2 separate regions of the Homo sapiens genome follow, and region 2 is linked to region 1. The links are contacts of gene promoters, found by promoter capture Hi-C in blood cells and fetal thymus (Javierre and others, 2016). All regions are on one chromosome and are shown on one strand. The core of a region is centred on a gene start or on the middle of the fragment in contact, and the rest is flanking DNA. Distances in the headings are between cores, read along the strand shown.

Region 1 (3,201 bases), core at 262-2,761:
TAACTTGAATTTTATGTGTCATACTCTATTATCCTTTTTCAAGAGAAAACAGAATGCTATTATTCACAGCCTTGTTTTTTAACACAGAAAAATAAAAAAAGGAAAAATGCTTCAAATTTCACTTGACTTGCAAGACTAAAACTTCACAAACTAAAATGACAAATGTATGATTTGTAAAATACAGTTACAATTAGGTTTTTTTTTTCATAACAATCTGTGGTGAAATGTAACGGGAAAGCAGACACTTATTTTAAAGATGCAATTTTAAAAATAAAATTCAAAACTTAGGAAATAGAAAAGCACTCAAGTTTTAGCAGGGATTTTAAAATGTCATCTACAAACTACAAATACAGGTAATCAGTGACACCAAATAAAGTATTTTGAAAGAGTTAAGGTAATGTATATTTCAAAAAGCCGTTACCAGGCTTTCTGTAAGTCCCTTGCAAGAATTCCACTTTAAGCATTGTAGTCTCAAATATTATATCAGGCAAACCTAGGCATTTGCTATATTCTTTTTAAAAATTTAATGGCAGACATCACCCTAGGTTCCCTAACGTTTAAGGAGAACCTCTCCTTCTAATGATTCTCTCACACAGCTTATTGGAACAGGAGATTGTATTTACTAACTAGATCAGGAAATCTCAAACCATACAGAGGAAATCAGAAACCGGTCACTCACGGCTACCACAGTGACTGCTTCTGAGTGTGGTTCAAGCTCAGTCCAGGACAGGCAGATGAAAGGACAATCTTAAAGGTGACTCTGGAGAGCAAGTGAGACTGTAACCCCAAAACTTTCTAGGATAATTCATTTTCACTTCTACCCAGTCAAAACAACTATTGACATCATCACTGAAGTGCTTAAGTCTACCTGGAGGTGGCGTGGAGCAGAGTGAGCATTCCAGAGTCCCAGACAAGAGGAGATGTGCACGAAACACTATCTTCCTGTCAGACACCTGTGCCCACTGCCCCAAGCACTGCCCCTCTGGTCCTTCATCAGCCTTTGCGCTGTGTCCCTCCTGCTCCTGCAATGGGCCACAGCACAGAAGGAAAGAGTCCTCCGGAATGGGTGACTGTATAGAAAGCAATCGAATCTTTAATCACTTTTCCTACTTTACACTTCACGCAGTTCTTATTCCTATCCCTGCTTCATGCCTTTCCAAGAGAATGTTAGAGGCCTCTTTCAATTTTCATTTCTCAGTCTTTTCCCCATCCCGTTCAGTACCCTAAACTTCGTCAGTTATTTAAAATAACCTTTTACCCCCTCCTCCCCTTCCCAGGATGTTTCAACTTCTCTGGCTCTCTTCCCCATCCTTACCTCCTCCAATTCTTTCATCCTGGTCCTGGCCTCTTAAACCCGCCAGGGGCTGCCCTTTGCCTGTCTTTTCTCCTCCCATCCCTCTCTGAACCCTTTCACCTCATCCATTCCCTTGTCAGGCTCTCCAGATTCCCGGGCTGTTTGCTGGTGAGAAATCTTTGCTGCAGCGAGGACCGGAGTCCCCCGCGCGCAGCCCAGTGGCAGAAGAGGGCTAGGCTGAGAGGGAAGCCAGGACTGTAGGAGAGGGAGGCAGCCCGTCCTCCTCACGAACCTGCAAGGATGCGGCAGGGGCCTGGGGGCATGGGGAGGTACTAACCCCCCGGAGCCCCCGATTGGGGCTTGCAGACCTGGCCCGTGGGCGGATTTTCTGCCTAGCGCAGCCGAGAAGCAGAGGTGCCAGGAAAACCAAGAGAGGGGCGCTGGGGGTGCCCATCCCCAGAGTCGGTCCCTCTGCGAACCGAGGAAGAAAAGAGGAGGGAGTCAGCGAGTGGTCAGAAGGGAAAACCTGACACCAGACTGGCTCCGGAGCGTCCGGGAGACTGGGGCGCTCCGGTGAGCACCCAGGGGGTGAAGCCAGCCGAGCGGTGGGCGAGGGGCGTGCGGAGGGAGTGCGCGCTCGAGGAGGGGACGCCAGGAGGGCAGCGATGCTCCGGGCTGGTGCAGGCTTGCTGGGGGATGTCGGCTGATGCGAGCTGGAGAGCGCGTGTGGCGGCCGCGGCGCCAGTGTTTGTGTGTATGTGAGAAAGCAAGGGGCGAGCGCGAGTGCGAGTGAGGCAAAGATAGAGCGCATGTCTCATCCCTGCGAGCAGCCACTAGACGCTCCACCACCATCTTTTGCATGTGCAACATTTGCAGCCGGACAGAAAACCTCTCCCAGGGCTATGGAGACTGCGGGAAAAATCTGGCGGCTCGCGATGGATTGCTAAGGAGAACTAGTCATAATCTTAAACCACCGAAACCTCTTTCCTTTTTTTTCTTTCTTTTCTTTCTTTTCTTTTTTTTTTTTTTTTTTTGGTTGATTTTAATTTTAGCGCCATCGTCTTCAATGCTTCTCTGAACAGCCTTTAGGAAGAGTGCGAGAGAAAGAGAGAGAGCGCGCGCCAGGGAGAGGAGAAAAGAAGATGAGGATTATTTCCAGACAGATTGTCTTGTTATTTTCTGGATTTTGGGGACTCGCCATGGGAGCCTTTCCGAGCAGCGTGCAAATAGGTAAGGTGTGCTCCGATGGGGTGTGCATGTGGCTGGTTGTAGCAGATATCCGAAAGTGAGTTAAATGAGTTGCTGATAAGCAATTCAGGGAAACCTTCAGCAGTTCCCTTCCCCTCTGTTTCCCTCCTCTTCCTTTCTCTCCTTTGCAAAAAGACTTCCTCTTTAGTGCAGGTTCCGTTGGAATACACCCAGGGCAGCCCACCCATGCGTTCTCAGCCCATAGCCCTATTTCCACCTTTACCTATAGTCGCTTAAGTAGGATTGAAATAAGTTGGGGGAAAGTCTTCGGGGAATTTGGTTGTATTTTATATGATATTTATTTCCATCCCTTTCTCTAAAGCATAAAGTGATGTCGAGTTTGTTTAAAAAAGAAAAAAAAAATCCACTTCTTCCCATTCTGGACGCCGCAGCTTTCTTGCTATTACAGAAAGACACTGTTTGAGGAAAAAGACATTTCCACCCGCACGCCCTGCCGTTTCTTGCTACCAGTTAGCAGATTCCAAAGTTAGATCCCTTTCCTGGAAGCTTCTCCCCTTTTATTTTGTTTTCTTCTTGAAGCTTTTGCCCTTATTTCTCTACCTCGACTCTGTTTCCAGGGACACCCTCCATCCTTGGCTTTTCTTGCTATTCTCCTCTACTGTCTTTTAATGGGACGCAGCTATTGAATTTCTTCCAGC
Region 2 (3,179 bases), core at 611-3,110, 950 kb before region 1:
TGGGGGCACAATTCTTGATTTTGGCAAAAGCATGCATTTGTGTAGCCACCAACACAATCAAAATAATGAATAGTTTAATTTCATCACCCTAAAAATTCATTCATGCTCCCTTGCGACCAAATTGTAACCCCACCCCAGTATATGGAAGGCACTGATTCATTTTTCCATTCCTATACTTTTGTCTTTTCCAGTATGTAATATAAATGAAATTATTTTAGTATGAAACCTTTCCATTCTGCCTTCTTGTACTTAGTATAATGAATGTGAGATTCATCCATGCTGCAGAGTACAACAGAAGTTTAGTTCTTTTAGTTGCTGACTAGTATGCCATTGTACGGATGCATCAGTTTGTTTATCCATTCACTATTTAGGATATTTAGAGGTTTTGGCTAGTTATGACTAACACCACTATAAAGATTTGCATATAAGATAGTGTGTGAATAAAAGTGTTTCTTTCTCTTGGGTAAATACTTAGAGAAGTTGGATTGCTCAATTGTAGTTCAGGTATATGTTTAACTTTGTAAGAAACTGCCTTACTAGGCATGTACCACCAGAGCCTTTTTGCCTGGTCCCAGTCGTTTTGGCGAGCACCCAGTGGAGGTTCATGAAGAAGAGCTTGTGAATGTGAGTAAAGTACCCCTGTGTCTGTGGCTCCCAGAGAGCCACATGATGATGTGACATCATGCTCTTAATGAGCCTCTTCCTGCCCTTTAGGAATCTGGGGAACATGGAGCTGAATCCTTACTGGTTTGTTGCCCAACTGGCATGTCTTTCTCTAGTGTTCTGCCAAGTAATCCTGGGTTCATGTCCTGTCTCATCCAGGGAACTCCTATCTCATCAGATTTTAGTCTATTTGATTGTCATGTAACATCAGTTTTCTGATGGGTTCATGAAAACTTGTGAAATTTTTTGTTTACCTGTGGTCAGAATAAAAGGAATGCCTCTTCCAGTTTCCTCCATCCTCCATGGGAGTTTAGCTGTGCTGAGGTTTTTAATGAGACCACATTACAATTTCTGATGCTCTCAGGCACAATTGCCTTTAAATAAAGTCTTGAGGTAAATGAGCTACTCAGTGAAGGTGAACTTTGGCAGAAACGTCTGAAATTTTTAAATGCAAATTTATCTCTTCCATTTTAACTATTGTGGAGTCCTGAAGAAATATCCTCTGACGTTAACTTTGAGCTTTGTAAAATAATATAAAATGATAAGGAAAGAAGAATTGCTACTATGATCATTGTATATTCAAATCATGGACAGAGCTGGATATTAAAATGAATACGTTTGTACTAATTAACCAGTAGGCTTTTTTCACAAAGCTAGAGAGGAAAACCCATCCTTTTACTGAACTAAATTTGTTGCCTTTTCCTCAAGTTTTCAGTTGCATATGAAAGCTTACTTTTCGTTTCCTTCTATTATTGTTTACCAGATTAGGCATCCATGCTTTGCTGGTGAACTTACACATATTCCTTAAGACACAAACTATTTTTTTTAATCTTACCTTTTTCCTTAACAGAAGCATAGTGGCAGATGTTGTGAGTTATCTGGTATGGTTTGAACATTTGTCTCCACCAAATCTCACATTAAAATTTGTTCCCCAAAGTTGGAGATGGGTCCTGGTGAAAGGTGTTTGGGTCGTGGGGGTGGATCCCCACTTTTCCTCTCTCTTGCCATGTGCTCTTTACACACTGGCTGTCCTTCACCTTGTGCCATGAACAGAAGCAGTCGGAGACCCTCATCAGAAGCAGGTGCTGGTGCCGTGGTTCCTGTATAGTCAGCAGAATCATGAGCCAAATAAACCTCTTTTCGTTATAAATTACCCAGATTTAGGCTTTCTTGCATAGCAACATAAACAGAGGAAGGGATGATCTATGCTTTATTCTCTCTGCCTTTCTTTCTTGATAGGAGAATTCACAATTTTACTTAGTGTTTAATTTTCTCTAAATACTCCAAGACACCTCTTGGATGCAGATCAATCTCTCTAATTGGGAATATGAGGGTCCCCACTATCTATTTCCATCTCAGCCCTCCAATCTCGTTGCTCATCATTCCCTGACTCAAATACCAAAAGGCTAGTGGTACCCTTTCCAAACCATGCTGTTTCTCTTTTTAATGTCTTGCCTCATAACACATGCATTTTCTGCAAAGTCTACTCCTTACCCATTATTAAACATATTTTAAATTTCAGATCTGAAGGCACCTCCTCCAGGAAGACTTGCCTGATTCTCCATGGGCTGTTATGTGCACCTTGAATATACCCTCTTTATCATCCTTGTTGTAACACACATTATGGATTAATCATCTTTTTTTTTCTATCTCTTTCTTTGTTTACTAAGCTTCTTGAATAAAAGGATTGTCTCATTCACCATTATGTTTTTTGCACAGTGCCTGACACGTTCAATATATTTTTCACTTTTGATGTTTCACTTAAAGGCTAGTGCTTTTCCTGAGTGACAAGTCAATGAATTGAGAGATTTAAAAAAAGAAGCCACAGGATGAGAGAAAATATTTGCAAAACACATACCTGAAAAAGGACTATTATCCAAAATGTACAAAGAAGTCTTAAAATTCAACAATAGTAAGCAAACAACCCAATAAATAAATGGGCAAAAGATCTGAAGAGACATCTCATCAAAGAAGATAAGCAGATGGCAAGCAAAACAAAGATAAATAGATGTTCCACATTATATGCCATTAGGAAACTGAAAATTCAAACAACGAGACACCTCTACACACCTATTAAAATGACTTAAATTCAGAACACTGACAACACCAAATACTGACAAGAAGGAAGCGCGAAAGGAAATTCTACTCATTGCTGGTGATTGCAAAATAGTACAGCTGCTTTGGAAGACAGTTTGGCAGTTTCTTACAAAGCTAAACAGAGTTTTACCACATGATCCAGCAATTCACTCTGTGATATTTACCCAAATGACTTAAAATTTATGCCCACACAGTGACCTGCATATGAACATTTATAGCAGCTGTATTTATAATTGCCAAAAAAATGGAAGCAACCAAGCTGTCTTTCAATAAGTGAATGAATAAATAGCCTGTTATATATACAGGCAATGGACTATTATTTAGCACTAAAGAGAAAGGAGTTATCAAGCCATAGAAGGACATAGATAAAACGTAAGTGTCTATTACCAAGTGAAAGAAGGCAATGTGAAAGCTCTACA

The links. Contacts are between HindIII fragments. The CHiCAGO score rates a contact against its expected background, and 5 or more counts as called.
Region 2: a fragment that was not itself captured here is called in contact with the fragment with the promoter of GRIA4 in region 1 in 2 of 17 cell types (monocytes and M2 macrophages); the score reaches 6.4 in monocytes.

What each region holds. Positions count from the first base shown.
Region 1 is chr11:105,608,562-105,611,762 of GRCh38, forward strand. It overlaps GRIA4 (glutamate ionotropic receptor AMPA type subunit 4), which reads left to right and starts at 1,512. Exons shown (of 17, transcript NM_000829.4): 1 at 1,512-1,867; 2 at 2,347-2,524. The coding sequence starts at 2,437. RefSeq lists a silencer at 2,488-2,688. The HindIII fragment of the contact is 4,294 bases long and covers 1-3,047 here.
Region 2 is chr11:104,662,995-104,666,173 of GRCh38, forward strand. No RefSeq gene overlaps it. Among named protein-coding and RNA genes, the nearest start is that of LINC02552, 55 kb to the left of the region's middle. The HindIII fragment of the contact is 942 bases long and covers 1,390-2,331 here.